Linked DNA regions of Homo sapiens: region 1 is linked to region 2. Evidence: promoter capture Hi-C in 16 types of primary human blood cells and fetal thymus (Javierre and others, 2016). All regions are on one chromosome and are shown on one strand. The core of a region is centred on a gene start or on the middle of the fragment in contact, and the rest is flanking DNA. Distances in the headings are between cores, read along the strand shown.

Region 1 (3,474 bases), core at 319-2,818, 1.1 Mb after region 2:
CTTCCTTCATTCCTTCTATTGCTGATCTGTTTTCCTTCATCTTCCTAGGCTGCCAAAGTAAATGCAAAACAAGCACCAGAAATCTCAGCTTGTGATTTCTGAAGGGCATTTTTAAATGGCAAGTTTGGTGTGGCACTGTTACATGTTCTTTTTTCTTTGGAGAGCAAAGCCCTTTGAGAGAGCAGGAACTCTTCTGTCAATGCATACGTTGTAGGATCCATACTGTGGAATCTCTTGTACCTAGTGCTGCGTGAAAACAATGAGGATTCCAAGTCTACTTCACTGGACGTCGGTTCTCAAACTTTTAAGATACTAGAAGTCCTTTTATTAAGCCAAAAGACCCTATGTATTAATTCTGTCTTCCAGGGGTAGGAGTTGGGGTGGGGTTTGGAAAGCTTTGTCTGGATAAATAATTAGTATTGTAGTTCCATTTATTTGATGTCTGATTTTGCGCTTATTAAAATTGATTTAAATCCTCAATGGAAAATGATTTTTTTTTTTTCAAATGCCAAGTGTTGTGTGACTTGCATTTGGATTATTCCCGGTGCAACCTGAAGATTCCTTGTGATGAGTTGTGGTTCCATCATCTTGGGAACCACTAAGAGAATTCTGTTTTACTCACAATCCAAACAATAAATGTTTTTTTCCCTATGTATGCCTTTATCCAGCACACAGTTTGCTAGACTTATGGATGAATATGGGTTAATATAACATGGTATCTATCCTTCTGGAAACAGACTTTTAAAACCTTACTAAGCATTCTCTGCATTCATCAAATGTGAAGTGAGTGCCTGGTGTGTGCCAGGCATCGAGCTGGGCACAGCATATCCCTGCCCTCAGAGCTTTACAGTCCAGTGAGTTCAACAGAAGATGAACAGTTTTGATGACACAAAAAATAGACACATGTGCATGCTGTGATAGGGGGAGATACAAGTTCCTGTGGAAGCATCATCTGGGAGGACCAGGGAAGGCATCTTGGAAAAACTGAGCTCTGAAAGATGGATAGAGTTAACCACATGAAGAGTGGAGAAGGGTACTTCAGACAAGGTGAACAGCATCAGGAAAGCCCAGGGAGGGTATAGAAAAGAAAGAACAGTAATTCTTGCAGTGGCTTTCAATGGGAGTGGCAGTCATGGAAGGAAGGAGAGGTAGCAGGGACCAGCTTTTGAAGGTCTTTGTGTATCACATTTTAAGAAGTTTAAATTTTAACCTAAGGTCACTGGGAAGCCATTGGCAGATTTTGTATGTTAGGAAGTTCACCACTCACCTACTTGGAGTATTGCAGGTGGAGCTAATGTGGATGGGCCTCCTGCCCATTATTAAATCCTGTTCCTGTCAGGAACAGGACAGCCCATGCTGTCTCTCCCTGTGTGTCTGTCTCTCCCTGTGTGTCTGTCTCTCTCTCTCTCTCTGTCTCTCTCTCTCAAAAGCTAAAGGAAAGCGCATAGGTTCCAGAAGGAAAAAGAAATAACCACTAGAAAAATAAGTATAAGCTGACTTTACCATGGCGCAGTGAGATTCCAAACCAAAATAAGGTTTCTAGGGATTGAGCTTTTAATACTGGTACTCCAACAGGGAGATAGGACTTGGGAAGCTGACGCTGTGTGAAAGTTACAGAATTAAGCAGCCTGCAAACCTGGACCTTTGAAAATCGTCCTACTGACCCAGGAAAAGTGCAAGGAAGTGGGTTCTCCAGAACCTTGGGTAGGCCAAACATTACTTGAAGGCATCGATCTAAATAATACACAAAAGCATTATTCAGGAACACCCTGAGAAATTAACATAAAAACTGATTTGGCCAGGCATGGTGGCTCAGCCTCTGGTAACAGTGCTTTGGGAGGCCAAGGTTGGAAAATCACTTGAGGCCAGGAGATCCAGGCTGTAGTGAGCTATGATTGTACTACTGCACTCCAGCCTGGGCAACAGAGGGAGAGTCTTAAAAAAGCAAACTGTCCAAGATCATTGAAACCATTAGCACTTAGGAAGAAACAAATGAAATTACATTCAAGGGGCTCACATTTAAATCCAGGGCTCTCAGGACTCCCAAAGTAAAAAGATGGACATAAAATAAAAAAATTACAAGCCACTTGAGAAAAAAATAAATCACCATGAGGTAGAGATAGCAGAGGAAAAATTACACATGAAGATCTAGGAATTAGGGAGCTATCCAAGATAGACTGTGAAAGTATGTTGCAAGTGACTGAGGGTAATGAAAAAAATGTCATAAGAGCATGAATTAGAAGCGTTTTGAGAAAGAATGAAGATAATGTGATCATTGACTGTAAACTCATTTGATGGGCAACAATAGATGAGACACAGCTATTAAGAGTGGATCGATAACCTTGAATGTGGATGTGAGGCAACTGTAGTATAGCACAAAAAGGTTGAGAAATGATGGAGCCCTTAAGCTGCTTGTGGACACTGGTCTGGAGGGGGACAGGACCAAGAAAACCAGTCATGGAGGTTGAACTAAGTCATCTCTCCAATGTATCCGTGCCTGTTACGTGCCAGTGCCGTTTAGGAGCAGAGGATATTGTAATTTTTTTTAAAGTTCCTATGAATACCTTCTAGTGGGTCATAATGGCTCAACCGGGAAATGGCAGTAGAGATGAAGAGATGGATGGATTCGAAAGACATTTTTTGGAAGTTGGAATTAACAGGATATGGTGAATAATCAAGAGATAGTAAAAGCATAATGGAGGAAACAATGGTTCTTCCTGTTACCATAGGAAGAAGCTTTGGAGTAGAGTTTTATTCATTTTAAATGCATTTATTGTGCACTTTATTATAGGTATTGGAGATTGATGGAAAATAGTCTCTGACCTCAAAGAGTTTCACAGGAAAGATGAGCGATGGCTATGTAATATGACCAATACTGGGATAGAGAGGTGCCCAGGTCACTACGGGAGGACTTAGGTGATTTCTAACTATGTCTGAGAGTAGGGGAAATGGGATCAAAGAAAACATCTCAGAAGACATGAAGCTTGAGCTTATGTCTTGAAAAATTTAAAGTTTAACCTAACCAAGGATAAAGAATCAGAAGAAACAGCATATTCAAAAGCTAAAGAACACGGGACTCTTGTGTGCTTTGCATGTACACACGTGTGTGCGTGTGTGTCTGAAAGGATTGGAGAGGAGGGCGAAGAGAATAACAAGATGAACGTCAACCTAATGTAGAATGTTTGAAGTTTGTATTTCACTTAACAAGACAGCGGGGAGTGATGGAAGGATCTTAGATAGGAAAGGGACATGAGCACGTTTGCCAAGAGAGCTCGTTCTGATCATAGTGGGTACGTGAAGGTGACAAATCTGGAGGCAGATAGCTCACATTTGGAGGCAGTTGCAGTCATCCAGATGAGAAGTGAGAGGGACCTAAGCTGTAAATTGTGGGAATAAAGACAAGACCCGTTAAAAAGAAAGAGAACACACCATGTAGCGTGGAAAGGAGAAGGGTGGAGAGTAGCCTGTGCAGAA
Region 2 (3,443 bases), core at 679-3,178:
TTAGTATATGATTTAGGCACAACTCTCCCTTTCATACACACCAAATACCTTATGACATTAAAACATTTATCACTGGGCTGAATGAGAGTTAATTTTGTTTTGATAGATGTTTCAGATTCTTTTACAGTCCTCACACAATGTTTACTGTGAACCAGGCACCGTTCTAAGGACTTTACCTGTATTAATTCTCTCAACAATGCTGTGACGTCATCCTCATTTTACAGATGAAGAAAACAAGGCACTGAGAGCTTGGTTAAGTAACTTTGCTGAGGTCGCAGAACTGGAATTTGAAGCCTGGCAGTCTGACTTTAGAGTCCATATTCTTAACTGAGGTGCTAGACTGCATCTTTCTTTGGAAAAAAGGGAAGAGGATATCATAAATTCGGGAACTTCCTCAGGCTTCTTCTGTTAGCTTACAAACTATGGTTAGCATTTTCATATGACATACGAGAACAATTATCTCCTCCTCTACTTTATCCCTATTGCTTAATCCTTTGGCTTTTCAGTAACACCCAAAGACAACCAGTCATTCTCTCCAGTGAGTCTCAGAGTTAAAAATTTAGCTGTCTTCAATAAGAATGATACATTGGACTTTGGGGACTCGGGAGCTCAGGGGTAAGGGGAAGGCTAATGAGGGACAAAAGACTACACATTGGATACAGTGTACATTGCTCGGACGCACCAAAATCTCAGAAATCACCACTAAAAACCTTATTCATGTAACCAAACGCCACCTGTTACCCCCAAAAATCGATTGAAATAAAACAATAATTTAAAAAAGCACATACCCCCCAAAACATAGTTGACCTCAGCTTAAAAAAAACTAACATACATTTGTTATTTTAAAAAATATTGCATAGTTTATTTGCATTCATTGGTCAGCATCCTCAGTTATGTCTGCTTTGAAAGAAAAATCCGCTGAGGTTTTAAGTTAATGATCCAAGATATCCAATTAAGATTTTCAGCTTTGAAAAATATGGAAATACGGTACAGCTGTGTACTGGATGTGCTGTGCTACTGTTAAGTTCCAGCACTTTAAGGAACGTTTCAGGAGTGACTAATACACTAATTCATTACCAGAGGTCACAGAGCTGTCATAATTGACAGTGTTCTTTGAGTACGAAAAACCGGAAAACGATGCAACTTCCAAAGCACGGAGGATGGAGACTGGTATTGGAAAGTAACTTTTCTGCTGGGCTCAGGAGTTTTTATATGCTCAAGCTATAGACAACTGTACCAACGCAATAGACTAATGTAATCTAACTATTCTACAAACGGCCACACCTACCCAGACTAACTGGAAAACAATAGTTTATAACTGGAATTAAATAGTTGCTGTTCTTTAATTAATGAGATCGGTGTTCTTGAAAAGCTACAGCGTACGAACTCTACCCTGGTCCATATCTGCTTTTTAAAGCCTTCCCCAGAACCGCTCTCACTTCAGCCTTGGTGCCTTCCCGGATATACCCTCCAGAGGCTTCCCCGGTCCCCATCCTGGACGTCAGCCTCTGCACCTAGAGGCCGGCTTAGAGGGAAGACGGGCAGAGGCGGGGGAGACAGGAGAGAGAGAAACGGTCTATTCCTCCTTAACTCCGGGCCCCCTCGAGGGCCTCACCCCTCCTCCCGGGGGCTGAGATTGGAGAGGAAGTGGGAAGGCTCCAATCTGTTCCTCACTCCAGCGCCCTCATGCCCCCACCCTTCTCTTCAGCTCGGGGCTTCGGCGCGCCTCGTCCCCGCCCTTCGCCCCGGGAGAGGAGCGGGCGGCGTGGGAGGGCTCGCGGAGAAAGGCCCAGGGGAGTGGACGACCTCCGCCCGGCAGCCACATCCTCAGCAGCAGAGACCCGGAGCCATCCGCCCGCGGGCGAGCCAGGCCCGAGGGCAGCCCCGGAGACCGCGGTGGCCGGATGCGCGGGCGCGTCACTTCCGGGCGGTGCAGCGGCGGCCGCTTGGAAGATGGCTGCGCCCTGTGGCTCGGAGCTGCCCGCCAACTCGCCGCTAAAAATTCCGAAGATGGAGGTGCTTTCCCCGGCTTCTCCTGGTGGCCTGAGCGACGGAAATCCATCGCTGTCCGACCCTTCCACGCCTCGGGGTGCCTCCCCGCTCGGGCCGGGCAGTGCGGCGGGCTCGGGGGCAGCGGCGTCCGGGGGTCTCGGGCTGGGGCTGGGGGGCCGCAGCGCCGCCTCGTCCTCGGTCTCCTTCTCCCCTGGTGGCGGCGGTGGCGGGGCTGCGGCAGCCGCCGCCGCCGCCTGCCGGGGCATGTCGTGGACGCCAGCCGAGACGAACGCGCTCATCGCAGTGTGGGGCAACGAGCGGCTGGTGGAGGCGCGGTACCAGCAGCTGGAGGGAGCCGGCACGGTGTTCGGCAGCAAGGCCCCCGGGCCAGCCATGTACGAGCGCGTGTCCCGGGCCCTGGCCGAGCTGGGCTACGAGCGGACCCCGTCCCAGTGCCGGGAGCGCATCAAGGTAACCGGCCGCCCGGCCTGGGGCAGCGAACCAGAGGCAGAGAGAAGGCGGGGAAGCGGGCCTCGGGGGCGGGGGCCGGTCTGAGGGCAGGGCTCTCCTCCGGGGCCCGGTGGGCGATTCGCATCTCCTCCGCCTTTTTCTTCTCTCCCTGGGAAGGGGGCTTTTTCCCAGATGGCCGCCAGCCCGTAGGTTTCCTGAGTTTGAAGTTGGGCGTGCCTGCCGCCGCCCCTCTTTCTTGCCAATTGAGATGTTCCTGCGCTCTGAAGTTGGTAGTTTCTCATTGTGCGCCGTGCGGCAGTCCCCGTGCCGCTGGCGCCTCTTGCCCCCACCGCCGGGGCCCCTCGCTTTGTTCCAGGCGGAGGGGCTCCCAGGCAGAGGCTTACCGGCCGGGGCAGGATTGAGGAAGGGCAGAAGGGGGGGGCATTGAGCCCCTAGTTTAGGAATAGTTAATAAGTGGCCGTAGCGGAGCCATAGAAAAAGCGCCTTGGGACGACTGGCCTTTGTGTCAGTCGCTTTGCTTCTATCTTGAGCTACGAAGGACGAGTAAGACTAGAGATGCTTTGGAGAATTGGAAAGGCTTGATTGTAGCCAGATTGTGTATTGTTACCGCGGAGTTAGTGTACACCATAAAAGTTAGCTTGGCCAAGAGTTGGTCTGGAATTTGGATTGTCGATGCCTCCAGAGTTAGATTGGCTTGAGGCCCTGCGGTTTCTTAGGAAGCTCCTTCAGGAAAGCCAGTTTTTCCCTGCTTCAGTTTCTGTGCCGGATGTGGTGACAAGTAGAACTCTCAGTGTGCATCTGGCCGTCCTTGTGTACCTGCATGTTTAAATGCAGAGGCTTAATTTGGGCTAGAAATCTTAGCCAGGTTAAGATTTTGCTACTAGAACTGACTCTAGGCTTTCATATTTGTATTATTGGCAGATAAGGAGTTGTATTTTAGTTAAGCTCATTTCCTCATCGTAGTGGCTGCTAAAAAGATT

Evidence for each region. Contacts are between HindIII fragments. The CHiCAGO score rates a contact against its expected background, and 5 or more counts as called.
Region 1: a fragment that was not itself captured here is called in contact with the fragment with the promoter of MSANTD2 in region 2 in 1 of 17 cell types (total B cells); the score reaches 5.7 in total B cells.

Annotation. Positions count from the first base shown.
Region 1 is chr11:123,732,044-123,735,517 of GRCh38, reverse strand. All of the region lies in intron 3 of ZNF202 (zinc finger protein 202), which reads left to right. Among named protein-coding and RNA genes, the nearest start is that of ZNF202, 7.9 kb to the left of the region's middle. The HindIII fragment of the contact is 2,341 bases long and covers 398-2,738 here.
Region 2 is chr11:124,798,891-124,802,333 of GRCh38, reverse strand. MSANTD2 (Myb/SANT DNA binding domain containing 2) reads left to right here and starts at 1,928. Exons shown (of 4, transcript NM_001308027.2): 1 at 1,928-2,463. The coding sequence starts at 1,954. It overlaps MSANTD2-AS1 (MSANTD2 antisense RNA 1), which reads right to left and starts at 1,906. Exons shown (of 5, transcript NR_103862.1): 1 at 1,078-1,906; 2 at 177-350. RefSeq lists silencers at 1,576-2,245, 2,286-2,525, 2,926-3,005, 3,236-3,285 and an enhancer at 1,742-2,349. The HindIII fragment of the contact is 4,637 bases long and covers 1-3,443 here.